Linked DNA regions of Homo sapiens: region 1 is linked to region 2. The links are contacts of gene promoters, found by promoter capture Hi-C in human tissues and cell types (Jung and others, 2019). All regions are on one chromosome and are shown on one strand. Each heading gives the region's core, a stretch centred on a gene start or on the middle of the fragment in contact. The rest is flanking DNA. Distances are from core to core; before and after follow the strand shown.

What was found. Contacts are between HindIII fragments. The study calls those that stand out against the background at their distance.
Region 1: a fragment that was not itself captured here is called in contact with the fragment with the promoter of SNX22 in region 2 in 1 of the 25 tissues and cell types used here (lymphoblastoid cells).

Annotation. Positions count from the first base shown.
Region 1 is chr15:63,514,796-63,518,604 of GRCh38, reverse strand. All of the region lies in intron 1 of USP3 (ubiquitin specific peptidase 3), which reads right to left. Among named protein-coding and RNA genes, the nearest start is that of USP3, 12 kb to the right of the region's middle. The HindIII fragment of the contact is 5,951 bases long and covers 1-3,809 here.
Region 2 is chr15:64,150,386-64,153,773 of GRCh38, reverse strand. It overlaps SNX22 (sorting nexin 22), which reads right to left and starts at 2,043. Exons shown (of 7, transcript NM_024798.3): 1 at 1,924-2,043; 2 at 1,448-1,531; 3 at 1,032-1,136; 4 at 435-529; 5 at 90-122. The coding sequence starts at 1,998. RefSeq lists enhancers at 1-94, 118-347, 3,275-3,384 and silencers at 1,338-1,717, 1,918-2,357. The HindIII fragment of the contact is 9,247 bases long and covers 1-3,388 here.

The sequences.
Region 1 (3,809 bases), core at 5-2,504, 630 kb after region 2:
TTCTTAGCAGTGTTTCTCTGAGTATAAAATTATATCAAAATCAAAAGTCTTTTTAAATTCTGAGATTAAAAATCTGTGTCCTTTACTTCCAATTAAGATCATACTTTTTAAAAACTAAAACACAAGGGAGAAGGTTAAATTACCAATGTACAGAGCCAAAAATCCTATAAACCTGGCACTAACTTGCCTTCATTAATGAATGATGAGCTAGTCCAATAAAAGTATTACAATGCATTAACTGCAGTAGTCCCAATGACCTTACAACTTTCTTTCACAGGCATATACCTATCCAAAGCCTGGCTTGTGATCTGACTTTCCAAGCAAGGTCGAACCCCCTGGCTTGCCTATTTTCTCTGCTGACTCTGATAACAGCAACAATATTTTGTTCTATTTATCAGAGAAGGTAAATCTGAATATAAATTTTTATTCAAATAGATTAATGTAAAATTTCAGTTCAATGATTTAACTCTGAGTAACTAATAAGATCCATTTCTGATAGGGCAAAACACTGTGCCCTAAAAACAGGATTACAAATGATATACATTTAAAAATGGACACTAAACTAAACGTGGCAAATTCTACTTAGCTCTTCTCCCACCTAAGACCCACTTAAATGACAATAAAGGAAAAAAACAGATACAAACCCACAAAGATAAAGAGAACAGTGTGAGGTAACCAAAGCAGACAAAAGATTTCAACAGCTTTTTGTAAGTGAGAAAGAAGTTAGGGGAGCAATAACAATCTTAGTAGTGCAGAGGAAGCTATGGCCTGAGTGTCAGCCAGGAAGAATGCAGATGGGAGGAGCTCTAGGTATAGGGACACAGCAGACAGCAGGTAAGGACAGGACTGAACACAAGGAGACTAGGGACTCTAAGGACAACTGAGTCATGGAACTTCTGCAATCTGATCTCAGAACATCAGTGGCCAGGTGCCCACCTCCCAGAGGGAAAACCGAAAAACTCAATGGTACCAGAAAAAATTCTCAGCACAGATATGAGTGTCTTCCTCCAATGAAGGTGACTTGCTCCCCACCTCACAGTGAAGCCCACTGTGGACAAGCCCCACCCAGTTACAAAGCTTTTTACATGAAAAAGTTCACTGTTATATGAAAAGACAAAGACAAAACAGATCTTTATAGAAAACCTCCAATCTGAAAGAATCATTTTAAAAAGAAAAAGAGGAACCCAGGAGAAATAGAAACCATACAGGGAGCACAGCAAAACTTCAAAACCAACATACTCTGAACTGCTGGAGTGGTAAGAGAAGATACTGCAAAACAATAGCAAGAGGATATGTGAAAAAGGAATGATTGGGAAATGAGAAAGAGCTCTTAAAATTTTTAAATACAATGATCAAAATTCAACAGAAGGAATGGAAGAAAAAATATCAAGGAAATTGGGGGGAGTGGGGAGGGATAGCATTAGGAGATATACCTAATGTTAAATAAGCCTAATGACGAGTTAATGGGTGCAGCACACCAACATGGCACATGTATACATATATAACTTACCTGCACATTGTGCACATGTACCCTAAAACTTAAAGTATAATATAATAAAAAAAAAAATCAAGGAAATATACCAGAAACTAGAACCAAAAGGCAAAGAAATAAGAAAATCAGAGACTACACTCAGGACACCCAACATCCAACTAATAAGAGTTCCAGAAAGAAAAAAAAGAATAAATTGGGGGATATAAGTATGGGGGGAGGAGCACACTATCAAATTTATAGTACAAAAAAATGTCTTTTAACTCAAGGATGTGAACCTATACATAAAAAAATCCCTTCACTTCCTATTAAAAATAAAATAAAAAAAAAACTACCCATGCCCAGCCATATTTTGAAATTTCAGAATACAGAGGATGAAAAGAATACCTTAAAGAATTATAGGAAAAAGAATAAAAGGACATATGTGGAGGAGGAAATCAGGAAGGCATCAGGTTTCTCAACAGCAACTCTGGGAGCCTAGAAACAAACCAACAATGCCTTTAAAACTCTAAAGGAAAATTATTTTCTTACTAATATTTTCTATTCAGCCAAGCAATCAAGTATAAAGGTAAAATAAAAATGTCAGACTTGCAAAGGCTCAAAAATTTACCTCCCTTAATGTGCCATGCAATTAGAGAAAAAAAAATTACCTCCTGTGAGAAAGGAGCTTGATGTACTCCAGCAAAACAATGAAATAAACCAAGAAAAACAAGACATGGGATCCAAGAAATAAGGGATCTAATATTATAAGAGAACAACAGAGGGAATCACACGATAAAAACTGTCCAGCCTGGAGAACTATTTCAAATGACAGCAGAGGTCAGAGGGCTCTGGAAAGGATTTTAGAAAAGAGTTAGTGCTTGGAGATTATCTAATCCGTTGAATGGGTTAAAAAATAATATTCACAGACCTTTGACAGGTTTAAAGGAACATTTAAGAGAAAATGTGTCTAAGGTAAACTAAGCAATTTTTAAAAGAGGCAATTATTGACTCAAGAAAAAATAAAATGTTGGACAAGAAAGAAAAATGAATCACTATAGTAACCAAAATATGTAATCTAATTATATTGGGAAATGGAGAGACTGAAGGGCAAGTGGTGCAAACACTGAAGTCTTCATTTACCACAGCAAGATATCAAGGAATAATACCTAAAAATGACAAATTAAGAAATAACAGAGCATTGGTTAGAATTATGCAGGTAAATATGAGAGAGAATGCTAAATAGAGCCTACAGAGATTGTCTGTGGACAGCAGGACTGAGAGTGGAGGCGAGGAAGACTAAAATTCTATTTTAAGCCCTTTGATACTATTACCTGTCTCTGTATATTTCAGAAATGTGTATTACTGTTCTGAAAACATGAATTAATCTTCATATGGTAAATTGATGTAACATAACAATTCATGAAATTGCTCAATTTTTATCTTTTTTATTAAAAAGTCTAAAATATATTACACAGCATAAAAATTAGAATAGCAGTTTATCATTTGGGGTCAGGCACCTACTGAATTCCTTATTCCCACTGCAGAGTTAATGATATGTGTCCTCCACTAGCAAATGTAATTTCAAAGCTGGCCAAAACTTGTCATCTATATGTTAAGAGATCCAGATACCTACAGAGCCAAAGAAGAGAGGGGCATCTGGTCCTGCTGACTTCCCACACAGAGGCAAATTCTGGTCCACGGGGCTGCCCCCAACCCCCAACTGGCTGTAGCATTTTACTCTATTTTTAAATGGATTCCTTATGCTTTCACCATGAAATGGAAACAACATATAGAAACAATGTGTGTGAAACAACATATTCTCAAAAACTGTAATGCACTAAACAAATTTGTTATGGTTCCTTCTACCACAAATTCAGACTTATTCAGACCTATTTTGGTGAAAAACACCTAATGAAGCTATTATGCCACTCTTGATCTTCATTTTAAATACTGGAACTGGGCTCCTCCTACCTCTAAACGAGGGGAAAGGATAGTGGGAGGAAGGATAAAAACCACTAAAGCCAAAGGAGATTACTAAATCAGAGTCAAAATGGGCCATTTTTGCCTTTGGAAGACCAGACACAAATAGCTTCAAAAAATTATTAGGAGCTCAAATTGTTTCAAAAATAACTTTCCCTATGAAGCTGATCATATAGAAAATAAAAACAAAAGCCATGAACTACTTAAAAATTCTGACATCTAATATCTTCATTTATTTAATACAGCAAGATCTGATGCAATTCCATGCTGTTGCCAACAACCTGAGTAAGCAAGTCCATGGTGAAACAGTGGTGGCACTTCAAAAGACATGAATCAGGTCATAAATGTAAACACCACT
Region 2 (3,388 bases), core at 794-3,293:
CCAGACAGGCCCAGGCAGCAGGCCTGCCTCCTAGCATATGGCCACTAGGGGGCAGCAGGGGCCAAGCGCGGGCTAGGGCTTTGACTTGCCTGCTGTCGCCAGGCAGGAACTCCCTCAGGGTGCTGAAGAGAAGAGAAACACTGTAAGCTGCCTGGGGATGCCGGGGGAGCGTGAGGAAGGGGTGGAGACACCAGAGCCCAGAACTGCACCTCCCAGGGGACCACTGCTTCTATTTGTAACAAGCCCCAGTTCCGGAGGTGGCGGGGGTAACCAAGTCTGTCCAAAAAAAAGCCCCTCCACCCAGGTCAAGAGAGCTGGTGAGGGCGGTCATGCTGGATCCTGGCAGATGTGAAAAGAAAGGGCTTGCCCTCCAACACCTTTCCTCACCTGCTCACTGCTGACAGCCCCTGGCCCCCGCCATCGGCCCCCCTTACCCCCAGTTGCTAGCCTTGGGGTCTGTGGGGAAGTGCCGAAGTCTCAGGAATTCCAGTAACTCCTTGGGCACCTCCTGGTTCAGGTACAGGATGCCCTGGAGAGGACAGAGGAGACCTGCAATCAGACCCAGCTACTAATTTGCATAGCGCAGTGCCAGTGAAAATGCAGGGCTCTTTGTTCCAAAAAAAGAATTTCACGACAATGACAGCAGAGCGTTGAACCAGGCTCAGGGCCCTTCTGGGCGCTGGGCGCTGTGTGCACAGGTTGTACCCCATGACGCGGCATAGCTTTGCTGTTGGGGGAAGGACCCTCACCCTACATGCCATCAGGAGGGCAGCACAGGACCTCACCATGGAGGGGACAGGACCTGGGTTTCATGGAGCTGGGACTACCTGTGTCCGTTACCTCTTTCAGTCCTTTCAACAAGCCAGAGGGGGGTGTTTGGACCTATATTAGACTCAGAAAATTGATGCTTGAGGTGGTGAATAACATCCCCAAGTTGTGGGTTCCCTCCCTGCCATGCCCCCACACCTCTCTGTCTGGGCCACACCCCTGGCACAGAAGGCCGGGGGGCAACCAACTGTGCTCTCGCATACCTGGATGTAAGCCTCCAAGCCCTGCCGGCGCTGTTCCAACCCTCTGGTCCTCCAGTTGGGCAGGCGTTTCGAGGGGAAGTCGGGCACTTTGTACAGCTTCTTGATCTACTGGAGGTTTACCGCGTGCGATCACAGCATCCCGACTGAGCCCTCAAGCCCTCTTCGCCCCAGCCAGAAGCCCTCCCGCGCCCCCGCCTTCGGGCTCTACTGGGACAGACCCTGGTGAGTGGTGGACCGGCCGAGGGCGAGGAAGGCCCCAACCCACCCACAGAGGCCCGGGGGCTGACCGGCTGCGCAGGGACTGAGGCAGTAATGGGGGTGGCGGAGGCTGGGGCTCGCCCGCCCGCCTCACAGGGCCTGGGCGGGGGCTGGACAGAGGCTGGGCCGGGGCCGGTGGGAGGTCGGCGCCGCCTCACCCGCTTGTGCAGCGCGTGGAACTCGCTGTAGCGCCTTGGCACCGTGTGTCTGCGCCCGCTGCACAGCACCTCCACTCGGAACACCTGGCGGCGCGGGCGGGCAGCGGGTCTGCGCGTGAGGCCCCGCGGGAGGACGCCGCAGCACCTGCGCCTGGCGACGTGCCCACCCTCCCGCTCTCAAAGGCACAAAGCGGCCTTGCGGCGCCGCGGCTGCCCGGGGACTCTCCGCTCCCGCACACCTGGGAGAACCGGCTGGCGGACCTGCCCCTCGGAGCCCTGGGGTCCCTCAAGAGCTCGAACCATGGTCCGCGAGGCTGGCAAATCCAAGCGGCCCCCAAACCCTCGACAAGGTTTCCCCCGACGGTCCAGCCCGCAGCGCTCGTTCACCCAGGCCCGGGCCCCGGGTCCCCACTGAGCGCAGCGCGGGGAAATCCTGCGGGTCCCGGCGCCCCTCCCCATCCAGGGGCCGCGCTCACCATGTGGCTTTTCTCCGGGCTCTGCCTGGGCCCCTCGGCCTCGGGCCCCACCGACGGGATGTGAACTTCCAGCATCCGCGCCCCGGCCCCAGCTGCTCCGCGCGCTCGGCTCGGAGCCCTAACTCTCCCGGAGCGGACTGAGGACCCCGGGGCGGCCGGCTCCGCCCCCTCGGTCCGCAGGCCCCACCCCAGGCCCCGCCCCCAGGCGACCCCGCCCCGGGCGTTCCCTTGCGCCGCGGGTCCTGAGCCTAGAAGATTAGGCGGGACCTGGACGCCGCCCCCGAAGTCTAGTGCGCCCACAGCGCGGGGCAGTGGAGTCAACCGTTTGTCAAACATTGACGGAGCACTCACTGATGCCAGGAACTGGCGAGCGAAAATGTCACCCAACCTGAGTTAAGCGCCTACCAAGGACGGCCTGTGGCTCCAGGCGCGGACGGAGGCGGGGCCCGGGCCTCAGCGCCGGTCCTGGGGCCAACCAGGGACCTGTCTTGGGTTCCTCAGTCCCTTCCCGAGCCTTTCCCTCCTTTCAGCCTGGTCCCTGAAATTGTGATCTGGATTCCCCGGCTGAGGCCACACCTGAGCAAGGCTTGGACCCAGTCCAGCTTTGATGCCCCTTTCCCCAGCATCCACAGGCCCCCCCATTCATTCATTGTTTTCATCCATCCATTCACTCATATCTTCCAACCCTAAGGGGCTCCAGGCTGTTTGTGGGGAAGAGGCAGTTTAGGGACCTAGACTCCGATTTGGACGTCAGACTGCCTGGATTTCAGGAGCTCCGTAGACCTTTGCTCATCTGCAAAATAGGGATAACGTGGCTCCTTCAGGCAAGTGTATAAAGTGAGATGATTTGGCCGGGCGCGGTGGCTCACGCCTGTAATCCCAGCACTTTGGGAGGCCGAGGTAGGCGGATCACCTGAGGTCAGGAGTTCGAGACCAGCCTGACCAACATGGTGAAACCCCGTACCTACTAAAAATACAAAAATCAACCAGGTGTGGTGGCACATGCCTGTAATCCCAGCTACTCAGGAGGCTGAGGCGGGAGAATCACTTGAACCTGAGAGGCGGAGGTTGCAGTGAGCCGAGATCAAACCATTGCACTCCAGACTGGGCAACAGCAAGACTCTGTCTTAAAAAAAAAAAAAAGTGAGATGATTCATGTTAGGCCCTTAACAGAAGCATTGAGCAGCAGCTTGACTGTGGGCTTCTCCTGGATGACTAGGATAAGTGGGCACAGGGCAGTGGATGGGAAGAGAGACTTTGGGGGGTGGCACCGGGTTGCTCTTGTCCACCCCTCCGGGCAGGTTCTTCCTGGATATGTGGCAGGATTTTGATCCAGAACTCTCTCAGGCCATGTGCTGGAAAGGACCTCTGCTCCCACCTCTCAGCCCTGCACCCTTCAGCTGTCGGAGAGCTGCTATCAGCAGCACCATGGCAGGTCCTCTACTCCACTGACTTCCCCCACAAA